3 separate regions of the Homo sapiens genome follow, and all the other regions are linked to region 1. The links are contacts of gene promoters, found by promoter capture Hi-C in human tissues and cell types (Jung and others, 2019). All regions are on one chromosome and are shown on one strand. The core of a region is centred on a gene start or on the middle of the fragment in contact, and the rest is flanking DNA. Distances in the headings are between cores, read along the strand shown. Region 1 holds the start of SLC44A1 (solute carrier family 44 member 1). Region 2 overlaps FSD1L (fibronectin type III and SPRY domain containing 1 like). Region 3 has its middle 53 kb from the start of CT70.

Region 1 (4,770 bases), core at 998-3,497:
AAAGCACCTTGCAGAATCTTAGAACTCTTAGTTCTATTAACACTTAAAGGGAAAACCAGAGTGCAGATCAGTCAAGCACAACGGACTGTAGTTGCTTTCAATTATATTCACCCATTATCTATGTCTAGGAAAGAGATCTCTAAAAAAGCAAAATACATTTTATGAAGCACTGCCACAGTCTGTTACGCATTTATCTCCTTCTACAGTTCCAATTACAGAATAAGCACTAGCTACTACACGGAACGGCAGCACTAGCCAAAAAGATTTTTCTAATCTGAGAGAAATGCTCCCATATTGACTCTGCAAAGAGAAACAACTCCCCTTTCCTTGACTATAAAGAAGGAAGACAGATGGCTTCTTGTTTAGGACTGTAGTTTTACTTTCAGCCTCCTCCCCGAGTTAAAAACAAGATGTACTTTTCTGGCTTTGAGGGAAAATCTCAAGGGAATGTTTTTTATTCTTGGCTGCACTGAATAATTCAACAAACATTTGAGAGAGCTGAGGGAGATACAAAGGAGAAAATACTTTTCCTTGTTCTCAGGGAGTTTACAATCTAATTCTGGAGTTTACAACCAGAATTGGGACTAGAACCATTAGTTTTATGTCTTCACTTGTATTTATTGGTTTAATGGTTATGGGAAACACATGTAGGATTCGCCAGCTCCGTGGTATGGTGGACCCTCTGATTAACCTGAAAGGAAACTAGAAAGAATGCAGAAGAATTCAAGATCTCAATCAGTTGAGTACTTGCTGACCTAGCAGCACTTTCTTATGTTATTTAATCTTGACCACAAGCCTTTGCAGTCATCCCTGCTACCAGCATTTCACAGAAGCGGACAATGAGATTTGGAGAGATAACTCGTCCACAGTCACGAACTCAGGAAATGGCATAGGAAAACATCAATTAGGAATTCTTCTTCCCTGGCCCTTTCTGTAGCTGTCCCCTTACAGGCTACCATTCCAACTTTCCTTGGCTTAGATTCCCTTTCAGTGCATGTAAAGTCAATTTAATTCTGTGTTCTTTTCTTCCCTCTATACTTTAACTAATCTTTAAAACTTGATGTCTCATATTTGGTGAATCAGTCCTTTTGGAAGTCTCACTCCCTTGCAGCTTTGCAAATAAAGTTTTTCTTTTCTTTCCTGTGGCTGTCTTTTGAGACATTCTTTGACAAGATGAAATGACATATGAAGGCTATAACAGTGCCTGATAATGTGGGGTTTTTTTTAACATCATTATCTTTAGTTTTATTTCTTTCACTTTTTAACTGTTTTCACCTCATACTGTATTTCCTAACGACTCGTTTGGAATTGTAAATTTCTTGAAGGTAGTTACCACGTCTACTCTAACTTGTTGCTACTTCCTTGAGTCTTACTGATTTAGCAACAGGAACTTGGTAAGTCTCTTTTGCTCGCCTCTTTATTCCCAGTACTAGTCACTGGAACGTAGTGTGTCTTCAGTAAGTATTTTTAATATGAATAAATTAATGTCCCCTTATTGTTTTTTGTAGACTATCCTGTATAAGAAAGTTTAGCTTAGATCCAGTATGGCTTTGACTTGCGAGCCTGGATAACTTTTTGCCTTTTCCTCATTTCTGGCTATTTATTACCATTTCAACCTTGGGAACATTTCATTAGGTTCTTGGTCCCTTTCAAGCCTCAGTTTCCACATCAGCAAAATGGGGACAGTAGCAACAGATGCTTGTTTCTTCCCGTCTTCTTATCACCTATTCCTTCTCCAGGAAAGGTTTCTTGTGTACGCTTTCCTCTGGAGAAAAAAAACAGCCGACGGGGCGGTAAGAAGCCATCAGGATCCTGAGTTGTGCGTCCAGTAGGGAGAGGGAGAAGTCCCGCTTGCCTCCTAGATCCGGAAGCAATCCGGCCCCTTTTTGGCAGCGAGTTGGCCCGGTCTTTGGCTGCCTCAGACCGCGTTGCCCTCCAGCCTCGAGGCAGAGAGCTGCCTCGGTGCCACAGCTAAATAAGCCCGGCGCCGCGCAGCCTCTGACACGCGCGGAAGGGCCCGGCCTTGTTCTGGCTGCCGCCGCCCTGCCACCAGCACGGCGCTGCACTGGGGGCGGGGAGTCTGATGGGAGACGCGCGCGGCGCTGAGGAGGCGGCGGCCCGGGAGAGGGAGCGGGAGAGGGACTGGGCGCGGGAGGCGGGAGGCGGGGGGACAGAGGGAGGCGCCGCCGCCGCCGCCGCCCGCCCCTTTCCGCTGGGGAGCAGCTGCTGCAGCAGGAGCAGAGCAGGAGACGCGTAGCCGCCGTCGCCGCCGCCGGGGGATGTGGCCGGCGCCTGCCTCTAGCCGCGCCGCCTCTTGAGTACCAGCCGCCGCTGCAGCCGCCGCCGCCGCCTAGCCGTGCGGTGCCAGGCCGCGCCCTCCCCGGGCGCCCGCCGGCTCGCATGCCGAGGGGCTCCGGGGCGTAGCTGCGCGCCCGGCGCCGCCTCCGGGCTCCTTCGGCCCCGCCATGGGCTGCTGCAGCTCCGCCTCCTCCGCCGCGCAGGTGAGGGGCTCCCGCCTCCCGGCCGCCCGCCCGGATGCCTCCCGTGCGCCGCGTCGCGCGGCGGGCGCCCGCCGCCCGATACCTCTCGCTGTCCCCAGCCTCCCCTGAGCGCACCGTGCAGTCCAAAGACCCCCACTCCGCCTTTCCGTCCGCCGGGTCCCGCCGATGCCCGTGCGCTGGCTCCGCGGCTGCCGACTCAAAGGCGCCTCTGCGCGGCGCCTAGTGCGCCCTCAGCTCTTCCCGGCCCCTTCCCCAGTCGGCCCCCTCCTCCCAGTCACACCTGAGCTGCCCGTCCCGCCCGCCTGCAGGTAGAGGCTGCACTGGCGCCTCCTCTGCCCCAGGTGGCATCCCCTTCCCTGTTCTTCCGGGCCTGGCTCCTCTCTTCCACCTCCGTGGAGTCTCCCCGCCATCCGCCGCCCGTTTTCTGTGCTCCTCGCAGGTGTACCCCCAGCAAGAGCTCTTCACCTCTCCCACCGAATTCCAGTTTCTGCTTCATTAGATATTCTGTCCCTTTTCTCTTGCCCGCTGCCCCCTGGCTGGGTTCAGATGGTTTCAGCGGGTCCCGGAGCCCTTCCACGGCCCGCTCCGCAGACCTCGCTTGCTCGCTTGCACCCCATCCCCCCTTAGTGCCGTGACCCGGGCCCCGCGGCCTCCCCGCACTCGGAGGCCCCTGCGGGAGCGCCGACTCTGGGCTGGGAAGGAGATTGGGCACCTGGTGGGTGACGGGAGCGCTACGGAAACTCCCTCTTTGTTGCCAGTGTAACAGGAGGAAGAGGTTCCGAATTTAGTTTTTCTGTGGGCACTGGCTGAATGTTGTCGCTGAGGGCTGAGATGCAGAGATTTCTCTCAGCTTCTACCCTGCCCCCATCCAAATTTCGCCAACCTCCTTCTCTCGGATCCGAGCCCTTAACCTGGGTGGAAATGTTTAGACAACTGTACGAGGATCAAATGTAATAGAACTCGACTACTGGCCACTAATAACTGAGAGGACCTGTTTGTAAATTACCTAATTTAGTGGATTAGCGAGTGTATTTACAAATACTATAAAAAGCAATCAGGAATACTGCATCAAACTGTCTTGTGGTGGTGTATGAAAAATAGGCTCTGACAACGCCTGGGATGTAATCTCACAGTTTCATTAGCGTAGTTTCATTAACTGTGGTCTGTGATTTGTTTGTTTTAGGGGGCAGAAAAGGGCTCTTGTTTTTAGAAATAAAGGATGGTTGGTTCTTGGTGAAGAAAAACGCTAGTTTGGGGGGAAAAAATTCCTCCAGAAAGCTAGCATCTGTGATAATGCCAGAAGTGTTTTTGCTGCTGCTAAATGACTATATATAACTCAGTTTTAAATAACCTGCATACTTGTTCTGAAAATCTGAGATCTGTTAGAGAGAAAATGACTAGAATTGCAGATGAATGGGGGACATTTGTGTTTTATTAGGTATCCATCCTATCATCCTATTCCTCCAGTCTTTTTTTTTTTTTTTTGAGTGTTTGCTTACCCGTTAGCTTTTTTTTTTCCTGCTAGCATTATAGTCAGGCTTTTTGGTGTAGTTAAAGATTCCTATTCAGTTATAATAGCAAAGTAAAACTATACGTAGAGGTGTTAGGAAGGAGAGGCTTGGTATATCAGAGTTTTCATATTAACATATAAAGGTGTAGAATTGCACATAACTTTCAACTGGTTAGGAATTTGTGGGGGTCTAGTTGGGTGCTCTTTAATATTTACTTAAGTATAATTTTCACCAAAAAGGTGTTTTTCAGATTGCCTTTCTTTTCAGAATTGAGTTAATTTACATTCCCTTTTGGTGGTGAAATGCCTTTAAGACAGAAAAGTATTGATAGTTTATGGATAGCTTGTTCAGTGCATGAACAGTTAAATTTGGGAGGGATGGGTGCTGCATCAGAACTCTGCTTTAAAACCGATAGTGGGTCTTGCATTTGTCTAGCTCCACGTCATACTTTTCAGAATGCTATCGTATACGTTTTCTTTTCTTTTACCTCCTCTCACTGTAGAACATGCCTTGTTCCACAGATAAGATGCATGTCATGCACCCAAGGGGTGCATTTTTTTCCTGTGGATTCCTATAACCAATCAACAGCTGTCACATGCTTTTAAGTTCAGCTTTAGGGACTTGTAGTGTTCAGTGGAGCATTGAGGAGCAGGTTTTGTGCCAAAGAGCTGGTGATTTTTTTTTTTTTTTCTTATTTGAGATTTTTGGCATCCTTCTTCATTTGTGAAATGTTACTAATCGGCTGGTATTTTAACTCT
Region 2 (4,770 bases), core at 1,233-3,732, 250 kb after region 1:
TATTTCTTGCCTTCTGGTAGCTTTTGAATGTGTTTGCTCTTGCTTTTCTAGTTCTTTTAATTGTGATGTTAGGGTGTGAATTTTGGATCTTTTCTGCTTTCTCTTGTGGGCATTTAGTGTTATAAATTTCCCTCTACACACTGCTTTGAATGTGTCCCAGAGATTCTGGTATGTTTTGTCTTTGTTCTCATTGGTTTCAAAGAACATCTTTATTTCTGCCGTCATTTTGTTATGTACCCAGTAGTCATTCAGGAGCAGGTTGTTCAGTTTCCATGTAGTTGAATGGTTTTGAGTGAGTTTCTTAATCCTGAATTCTAGTTTGATTGCACTGTGGTCTGAGAGACAGTTTGTTATAATTTCTGATATTTTACATTTGCTGAGGAGAGCTTTACTTCCAAGTATGTGGTCAATTTTGGAATAGGTGTGGTGTGGTGCTGAAAAAAATGTATATTCTGTTGATTTGGGGTGGAGAGTTCTGTAGATGTCTATTAGGTCCACTTGGTGCAGAGCTGAGTTGAATTCCTGGATATCCTTGTTAACTTTCTGTCTCGTTGATCTGTCTAATGTTGACAGTGGGGTTTTAAAGTCTCCCATTATTATTGTGTGGGAGTCTAAGTCTCTTTGTAGGTCACTCAGGACTTGCTTTATGAATCTGGGTGCTCCTGTATTGGGTGCATATATATTTAGGCTAGTTAGCTCTTCTTGTTGAATTGATCCCTTTACCATTATGTAATGGCCTTCTTTGTCTCTTTTGATCTTTGTTGGTTTAAAGTCTGTTTTATCAGAAACTAGGATTGCAACCCCTGCCTTTTTTAGTTTTCCATTTGCTTGGTACATCTTCCTCCATCCTTTTATTTTGAGCCTATGTGTGTCTCTGCACGTGAGATGGGTTTCCTGAATACAGCACACTGATGGGTCTTGACTCTTTATCCAATTTGCCAGTCTGTGTCTTTTAATTGGAGCATTTAGTCCATTTACATTTAAGGTTAATATTGTTATGTGTGAATTTGATCCTGTCATTATGATGTTAGCTGGTGATTTTGCTCGTTAGTTGATGCAGTTTCTTCCTAGCCTCGATGGTCTTTACAATTTGGCCTGATTTTGCAGTGGCTGGTACTGGTTTTTCCTTTCCATGTTTACTGCTTCCTTCAGGAGCTCTTTTAGGGCAGGCCTGGTGGTGACAAAATCTCTCAGCATTTGCTTGTCTGTAAAGTATTTTATTTCTCCTTCACTTATGAAGCTTAGTTTGGCTGGATATGAAATTCTGGGTTGAAAATTCTTTTCTTTAAGAATGTTGAATATTGGCCCCCACTCTCTTCTGGTTTGTAGAGTTTCTGCCGAGAGATCCGCTGTTAGTCTGATGGGCTTCCCTTTGTGGATAACCCGACCTTTCTCTCTGGCTGCCCTTAACATTTTTTCCTTCATTTCAACCTTGGTGAATCTGACAATTATGTGTCTTGGAGTTGCTCTTCTTGAGGAGTATCTTTGTGTCATTCTCTGTATTTCCTTAATCTGAATGTTGGCCTGCCTTGCTAGATTGAGGAAGTTCTCCTGGATAATATCCTGCAGAGTGTTTTCCAACTTGGTTCCATTCTCCCCGTCACTTTCAGGTACACCAATCAGACATAGATTTGGTCTTTTCACATAGTCCCATATTTCTTGGAGGCTTTGTTCATTTCTTTTTATTCTTTTTTCTCTAAACTTCCCTTCTCGCTTCATTTCATTCATTTCATCTTCCATTGCTGATACCCTTTCTTCCAGTTGATTGCATCGGCTCCTGAGGCTTCTGCATTCTTCACGTAGTTCTCGAGCCTTGGCTTTCAGCTCCATCAGCTCCTTTAAGCACTTCTCTGTATTGGTTATTCTAGTTATACATTCGTCTAAATTTTTTTCAAAGTTTTCAACTTCTTTGCCTTTGGTTTGAATTTCCTCCTGTAGCTTGGAGTAGTTTGATCGTCTGAGGCCTTCTTCTCTCAACTCGTCAAAGTCATTCTCCATTCAGCTTTGCTCCATTTCTGGTGAGGAGCTGCGTTCCTTTGGAGGAGGAGAGGCGCTCTGGTTTTTAGAGTTTCCAGTTTTTCTGTTCTGTTTTTTCCCCATCTTTGTGGTTTTATCTACTTTTGGTCTTTGATGATGGTGATGTACAGATGGGTTTTTGGCGTGGATGTCCTTTCTGCTTGTTAGTTTTCCTTCTAACAGACAGGACCTCAGCTGCAGGTCTTTTGAAGTTTGCTAGAGGTGCACTCCAGACCCTGTTTGCCTGGGTACCAGCAGCGGTGGCTGCAGAACAGTGGATTTTCGTGAACCGCAAATGCTGCTGTCTTATCGTTCCCCTGGAAGTTTTGTCTCAGAGGAGTACCCGGCCGTGTGAGGTGTCAGTCTGCCCCTATGGAGGGGGTGCCTCCCAGTTAGGCTGCTCGGGGGTCAGGGGTCACGGACCCACTTGAGGAGGCTGTCTGCCTGTTCTCAGATCTCCAGCTGCATGCTGGGAGAGCCACTGCTCTCTTCAAAGCTGTCAGGGACATTGAAGTCTGCAGAGGTTACTGCTGTCTTTTTGTTCGTCTGTGCCCTGCCCCCAGAGGTGGAGCCTACAGAGGCAGGCAGGCCTCCTTGAGCTGTGGTGGGCTCCACCCAGTTTGAGCTTCCCGGCTGCTTTGTTGACCTAAGCAAGCCTGGGCAATGGCGGGTGCCCCTCCCCTAGCCTCGCTGCCACCTTGCAGTTTGATCTCAGACTGCTGTGCTAGCAATCAGCGAGACTCCGTGGGTGTAGGACCCTCGGAGCCAGGTGCGGGATATAATCTCCTGGTGCGCTGTTTTTAAAGCCCGTCGGAAAAGTGCAGTATTGGGGTGGGAATGACCTGATTTTCCAGGTGCCGTCTGTCACCCCTTTCTTTGACTAGGATAGGGAACTCCCTGACCCCTTGCTCTTCCCGAGTGAGGCAATGCCTCGCCCTGCTTCGGCTCGTGCAGGGTGCGCTGCACCCACTGTCCTGCGCCCACTGTCTGGCACTCCCTAGTGAGATGAACCCGGTACCTCAGATGGAAATGCAGAAATCACCTGTCTTCTGCGTAGCTCACGCTGGGAGCTGTAGACCGGAGCTGTTCCTATTCGGCCATCTTGGCTCCAGCTCGGGTTGTTTCTTTTCTTATTGTTGAATATTAAGAGTTCTTTGGGCCGGGCGCGGTGGCTCACGCCTGTAACCCCAGCATTTTGGGAGCCCGAGGCGGGCAGATCACAAGGTCAGGAGATCGAGACCATCCTGGCTAACATGGTGAAACCTCCTCTGTACTAAAAATACAAAAATTAGCTGGGCGTAGTGATGGGCGCATGTAGTCCCAGCTCCTCGGGAGGCTGAGGCAGAATGGCATGAACCCGGGAGGCGGAGCTTGCAGTGAGCCGAGATTGCACCACTGCACTGCAGCCTGGCAGCAGAGTGAGACTCCATCTAAAAAAAAAAAAAAAAGAAAAGGAATTCTGTGTAGTCCTTATCAGATGTTTCTTTTGCAAATATTGTCTCCCTGTCTGGCTTTTTTTCCCCTTGACGATGTCTTTTACAGAGCAAGATTTTTAATTCTAATAATGTTTAGCCTATCTTACTGTTTCTTTCATGAAGCTTGCCTTTGGTTCCTTTGATCTATTTGTCTCTTCTTTCACCAGTACCAGGTCTTGATGACTGTAGCTTTTTTTTTTTTTTTTTTTGTGTCGGAATCTCGCTGTGTCGCCCAGGCTGGAGTGCAGTGGCACAATCTCTCTGCTCACTGCAAGCTCCGCCTCCCGTACTATGTCTGAGAGTTGACTAGTTTCAGTCTTCCAACTTTGATCTTCTTTTTCAATACTGTGTTGCCTTTATCTGGATCCTTTGCCTTTCCATATAAACTTTAGAGTCATCTTATTGATATCCACAAAATAGCTTACTGGGATTATGATTGGGATTGCAATCAATCTGTAGGTCAAATTGGGAAGAACTGACATCTTAAGAACATTGAGTATTTCTATCCATAAACATTGGAATGTCTCTACATTGATTTAGTTCTTTGATTTCTTTCATTAGAGTTTTGTAGTTTTCCTCATATAAACATGGAACATATTTTGTTAGATTTGTATCAAAAGATTTCATTTTGGGGGTGCTGATGTAAATGGTATTGTGTTTTAATTTCAAATTTCACTTGTTCATTTCTGGTATACAGGAAAGTGGTAGGCCTTGTATCCTGCAGCCTTGCTGCAATCACTTACTAGTTTCAGGAGTTTTTTGTTGATTCTTTTGGATTTTCTACCTAGATGATCATGTTGTTTGTTAACAAAGACAGTTTTATTTCTTTCTTCCCAACCTGAATACCTTGTATTGTCGTACTGCATTACCTAGGACTTCCAGTACTATGTTGGAAGCAGTAGAAAGAGGGGGATCCTTGCCTTGTTCCTGAACTTAGTGGAAACATTTTGAGTTTCTCTCCATTAAGTATGGTGTTAGCTGTAATTTTTTTTGTAGCTATTTCTTAACAAGTTGAGTTGAGGAAGTTCCTTTCTGTTCCTATTTCACTGAGAGTTTTTATTTTGAATGAGTGTTGGAATTTGTGAAATGCATTTTTTGGCATCTATTTTTATGATTGTGAGATTTTTCTTTTTAAGCCTGTTGATGTGATGGGTTACATTGATTTTTCAAATGTCGAACCAGCCTGCATACTTGGAATAAATACCAGTTGGTCAAGGGTATAATTCTTTTTGTTAATTGTTGGATTTGATTTGCTATATTTTGTTGAGGATTTTTCACA
Region 3 (4,770 bases), core at 1,435-3,934, 200 kb before region 1:
GTTTTATTCTTTAACAGTTCTTTGCATACTCAATATATTCACTTTTAGTCTGATACATAGATTGAGAATTTTCTTCAGTTTGTCATTTGCATTTTTATATGCTTATGGTACTTTTGGATATTTAGAAGAAATAGAATTTTCATGGTAAATCTGTTTGTGTTCCTCTTTCTGGTTTCTGTCTATGGTGACATTTTCTAAAAAGACCTTCACTCCCTCTTCACTCCCTATCAAGATATTTGTTAGTATTTCCTTCTAGTACTTTTATCTTTTTATTTGTTTATATTTAATTCCTTAATCCATTTCAATTTATTCTGATATATGATGTTGCATGTTAGTGATCTCCAGAAAAACAGAACCAATAAGATATGTATACGGAGAGAGAGAGAGAGGAGAGAGGGAGAGAGAGATTTTAGGAATTGAGCCAGTTGTGTGACTGGCAAATTCAAAGTCTGCAGAGCAGGTGGCAGGCTGGAGACCCAGGGAAGAATCAATGTTGTAGCTTGGGTCAGAAGGAGTCTGGGGTGAACGGCTCATGCCTGTAATCCCAGCACTTTGGGAGGCTGAGGCAGGCAGATCATTTGAGTCCAGGAGTTTAGGACCAGCCTGGGGAACATGGTGAAGCCCAGTCTCTACAAAAAATACAAAAATTAGCCAGGCATGGTGGTGGTGTGCCTATAGACCCAGCTACTCGAGAGGCTGAGGCCAGAGGATGACTTGAGCCCAGGTGGCAAAAGTTGCCATGGGACTGTGCCACTGCACTCCAGCCTGGGCAACAGACACCCTGTCTCAAAAAAAAAAAAAAAAAAAGAAGAGGAAGAAAAAAGGAGGAGGAGGAGGAGGAGGGGGAGGGGGAGAAGGAGGGGGAGGAGGAGGAGGAGGAAGTTCAGAGGCAGTATTCTCTTTTTCTCAGGAGACCTCAATTTTTCATAATCTTAACGCCTTCAACTGATTGGACAAGGCCCACCCAGTTTATGGAGGGTAATCTGCTTTACTCGAAGTCTACTGATATAAATGTTAATTTCATCTTAGAAATATCTTCACAGAGATCTCTTGACTGGTATTTGACCAAAGAGCTAGATATAGTGGCCTAGCCAAGTTGACACACAAAATTGCCATCACAGAGTGAGTCAGGGATCTAACTTTATCTTTTCCCTATTCTCTTTCTGATAAGAGGTCCCACAAAGCCCTGATTCCCTCATATTCTCTTCTGTTAGACTGTAGGGGCTAAAAAAGGTATTCAACAAACTTCCTTCTCTTCTCTTAGTTTGGCCTTCCATTCTCTAGATCCTACAGATGCCTTTTCAAACCTCAAATGACAAATAGACGAAAATAATGGGTGTGATCTAGTCTATTTGTCTCCAAAATTTGGGAGCTTGACCCATAGCAGACAAAAGGCATGCCCCATCTTGATCTGTGGGGGGATTTTTGCTCATGGCAGCGTCCCCTTAGACACCCTGAAGAGATAGCCAGAAAAGTGTGAAATTTCTACTTATCTTCACACTCTAGTAAGCCCTCTAACCCTTGTTTCTCGACTACAAGGCAGGATCCAAGAGTTCTAGAGCTTTCTAGCCAGGGCATTGTGAGGACATGGAGCCCGCAAGGAAAATTTCTGCCCAAGCATATGACATTATGATTAATAAGCATCAGCCATTAAGTATTTTGAGAGCTTCAGATGAAAGTTTCACAAACAGACCAGAGTGTCATATAATAAGGATTATAAGCTTCTAAGTATTTCATACTTGCCTTGATCAAAACAGAAAACTCTTCATGTATACATTATTAATAAATTTGGATGCCCCTTTAAAGGTGATTAATTAGGTCTGAGTCTCCTTCAGACTCTATGATCACACTGAAGATCTACACACTGGTCTGTCTGCTCCAGAGCTCCAGGCTTTTATCTCTCTAGTTTGGCAGGAATCTCCATGGGAGGCCAGTCCTAGCCTTGAGTGTGAAGGGTCACCAGTGGGGCATCATCCCCTGCGTTCTGGAGTGTGCTGAATGCCAACTCCCATTACATGGGGACCAAAATGAGCTCAGGAGCATTGGTATCAAGCCAGACTGCCAGTCTTCCACTCAGGCATCTCGGCCAACCTGCAACAAACACTGCCTGGTCTAGCTATTTAGAACTGAATAATTGGCACAGACATAGATGCCTGCTGACTTGCATTTGGTGCTCCCATTTGAATTTGAATTCTTTCATTAAGCCACAGAGCATCCTTTTTAAAGGTCCAGATCCTCCCAGGATAATTAGACTCTTCCTACAGCAACAGGAAGGCTGAATTATTCTTTCTGTCTCCCTGATCTGGCTGCATTTAAACAAGTTGGTAGGTACTTTCTGAAACAATTAGAAGAAAAGGGATAAGATGAGTGAGGCTCAATTCCCTTTTCAAAAAGTGCAGACAATGGCGGGTGCGGTGGCTCATGCCTATAATCCCAGCACTTTGGGAGGCTGAGGTGGGCAGATCACTTGAGGTCAGGAGTTCGTGACCAGCCTGGCCAACATGGTGAAAACCCGTCTCTCCCAAGAATACAAAAATTAGCCAAGCATGGTTGTGCAAGCCTGTAATCCCAGCTACTCAGGAGACTGAGGCAGGAGAATTGCTTGAACCCGGAAGGCGGAGGTTGCAGTGAGCCGAGATCATGCCACTGCACTCCAGCCTGGGTGACAGAGCGAGAGTCTATCTCAAAAAAACAAACAAACAAACAAAAAAACAACAGTGCAGACAAGAGATCTAAAAATGCTTCTTGCTATCTAGTAAGCTTGGATGTGCCTTCTTGGAGGCTACAGAAGGGTAGCCTTGAAAAATTGGATTTTTGCTGGGTACTTCCCAGTGAATCAAGGCACTGGCATCCCTGGGGGGCTCTGCAAGGTTATGGTCCTGAGGTTTGTGTATGAGAGTCCTGTTGCTGTTCCAGTGCATTTATAAGCCCTTATTGAGATGGCAGGTGACTAGAGGGAAAAGGACTCCTGTTGAGTATTTTTTTTTTTTTTTAAGAAATCCTTTAGGAAGCTGGATTAGGCTACGTGGAAATGTAATTGTGATTCTCAGCAGGCTGAGACTCATTAACAAAGAGCCAGAATAATGGGTTTTTATACAAGGTATTCATTCATTCATTTTTATTCATTTATTCTTTAACTGAATGTCTCCGCTAAGTGCCAAGCACTGGGTGGGATCCAGTCCCTGTCCTCAATGAGCTGAAAGTGTTTATATGGGAAGGGAAGTGTGGGTGGAGAACAGAATGCAGGAGAGACAGACAAGTAAACAGGTTATTAATACACTGTGATAATTACTAAAACAGTGGTAGGTACAAGCATCAAAATTCGGATGGGGAATAATGCATTAGAAATGGTGTAGGGAAAAAGTATGAAGGAGAAGAAAGACTTGACAGTGGACATGAAGCTATAGCTGAGCCTTTTTTTTTTCTTTTTTTTTTTTTGATACAGTGTCTTGTTCTGTTGCCCAGGCCAAAGGGCAGTGGTACAATTATGGCTTACTGCAGCCTCAACCTCCTAGCCTCAAGCAACCCTCCCACCTCAGCCTCCTGAGTCACTGGGACTACAGGTACATGTCACCATGCCCTGGCTAGTTTTTTTTGTGGACTTTTTTTTTTTTTTTTTTTGAGATAGGGTTTCACTCTGTGGCCCAGGCTAGGGTACAGCAGTATGATCTCGGCTCACTGCAACCTCCACCTCCCGGACTCAAGCGATCCTCCCACCTCAGCCCTCCCAGTAGCTGAGACAAGTAGGCACCACCATGCCTGGTTAATTTTATTTTTTTGTAGCAACGAGGTCTCATTGTGTTGCCGAAGCTGATCTTGAACTCTTGGCTCAAGTGATCCTCTTGCCTCGTCCTGCCAAAGTGCTAGAATTACAGGTGTGGGCCACCACACACAGTCTTTTGTTGAGTCTTGAATGATGAGTAGGAGCTTGTCAGACAGATCAAGAAGTAGGTAGAAGAGAAAGGAAGGCATTCCAGTCAGAGACAAGAAAAGGCAAAATGAAGGGGGCATAAAACGACATGGTGTATGCACAGTACTGTGAGTTGGTATGACGAAATGCTAGAAGCATGGGGAAGGGGACAGAAAAAAATGAGACTAGAGAGGTAGCCAGGGGCCAGATCTACAAGTTCTTTCAATACCATGAAATATATCCCTGAGGCAATGTGTCTAATAAGCCGTACCCTGGAATTTTGGGTCACCTGGCACAAACTATGGCTAACTATATCTATCTCTTCCTAAAAGTCTGTGGACCAAGGAGCTCCCCAAAGAGCAAAGGATATGGCACATCCATTGCTTGACCTGGTATATGCTAATAAAAATAAAGTACGGACAGGCACAGGCCCAAGACTAATGCCCTGCAGCAGCCACAAGGGGCTTGCTTCCATATCACTTTCCATTCATTAATTGGTATCCACTGGGTATAATTATGAAGCCACCACATGATACCTGTATCCAGCCTCTCTTTCCACATTTTGCATTCAATAATGTCACATGAGACATGTCTGGCTGTCATCCAGATATTCTGTGCTCACTCCACATATCTGCTCAACCAGTCTAATGGCCTTAATCAAAAAAGGAAATTAGATTACTCTAGCATGACCTGTTTTACTGAAATGCTACTGGCTTAGAGGGATTGCTGCTTAATTTGTAAGCACTCATAAGCCATTAGTAGAATAATCTCTTATGGAATTTTGCCTAGGACTGGTGCCAAGCTCATGAATCCATAGTGGGTGAAACAGGGAGGGAAAAATTAATTGTATTTCCTAAAAA

The links. Contacts are between HindIII fragments. The study calls those that stand out against the background at their distance.
Region 2: a fragment that was not itself captured here is called in contact with the fragment with the promoter of SLC44A1 in region 1 in 2 of the 25 tissues and cell types used here (hippocampus and pancreas).
Region 3: a contact is called between a fragment that was not itself captured here and the fragment with the promoter of SLC44A1 in region 1, in 1 of the 25 tissues and cell types used here (hippocampus).

Annotation. Positions count from the first base shown.
Region 1 is chr9:105,242,404-105,247,173 of GRCh38, forward strand. SLC44A1 (solute carrier family 44 member 1) reads left to right here and starts at 2,248. Exons shown (of 16, transcript NM_080546.5): 1 at 2,248-2,501. The coding sequence starts at 2,466. LOC112268038 (a long non-coding RNA gene) reads right to left here and starts at 3,190. Exons shown (of 3, transcript XR_002956866.2): 1 at 2,616-3,190. RefSeq lists enhancers at 1,890-2,794, 2,795-3,698 and silencers at 2,021-2,620, 2,631-2,770, 3,111-3,190. The HindIII fragment of the contact is 14,998 bases long and covers 1-4,770 here.
Region 2 is chr9:105,492,522-105,497,291 of GRCh38, forward strand. All of the region lies in intron 7 of FSD1L (fibronectin type III and SPRY domain containing 1 like), which reads left to right. Among named protein-coding and RNA genes, the nearest start is that of FSD1L, 47 kb to the left of the region's middle. The HindIII fragment of the contact is 4,377 bases long and covers 295-4,671 here.
Region 3 is chr9:105,042,610-105,047,379 of GRCh38, forward strand. No RefSeq gene overlaps it. Among named protein-coding and RNA genes, the nearest start is that of CT70, 53 kb to the left of the region's middle. The HindIII fragment of the contact is 6,129 bases long and covers 1-4,770 here.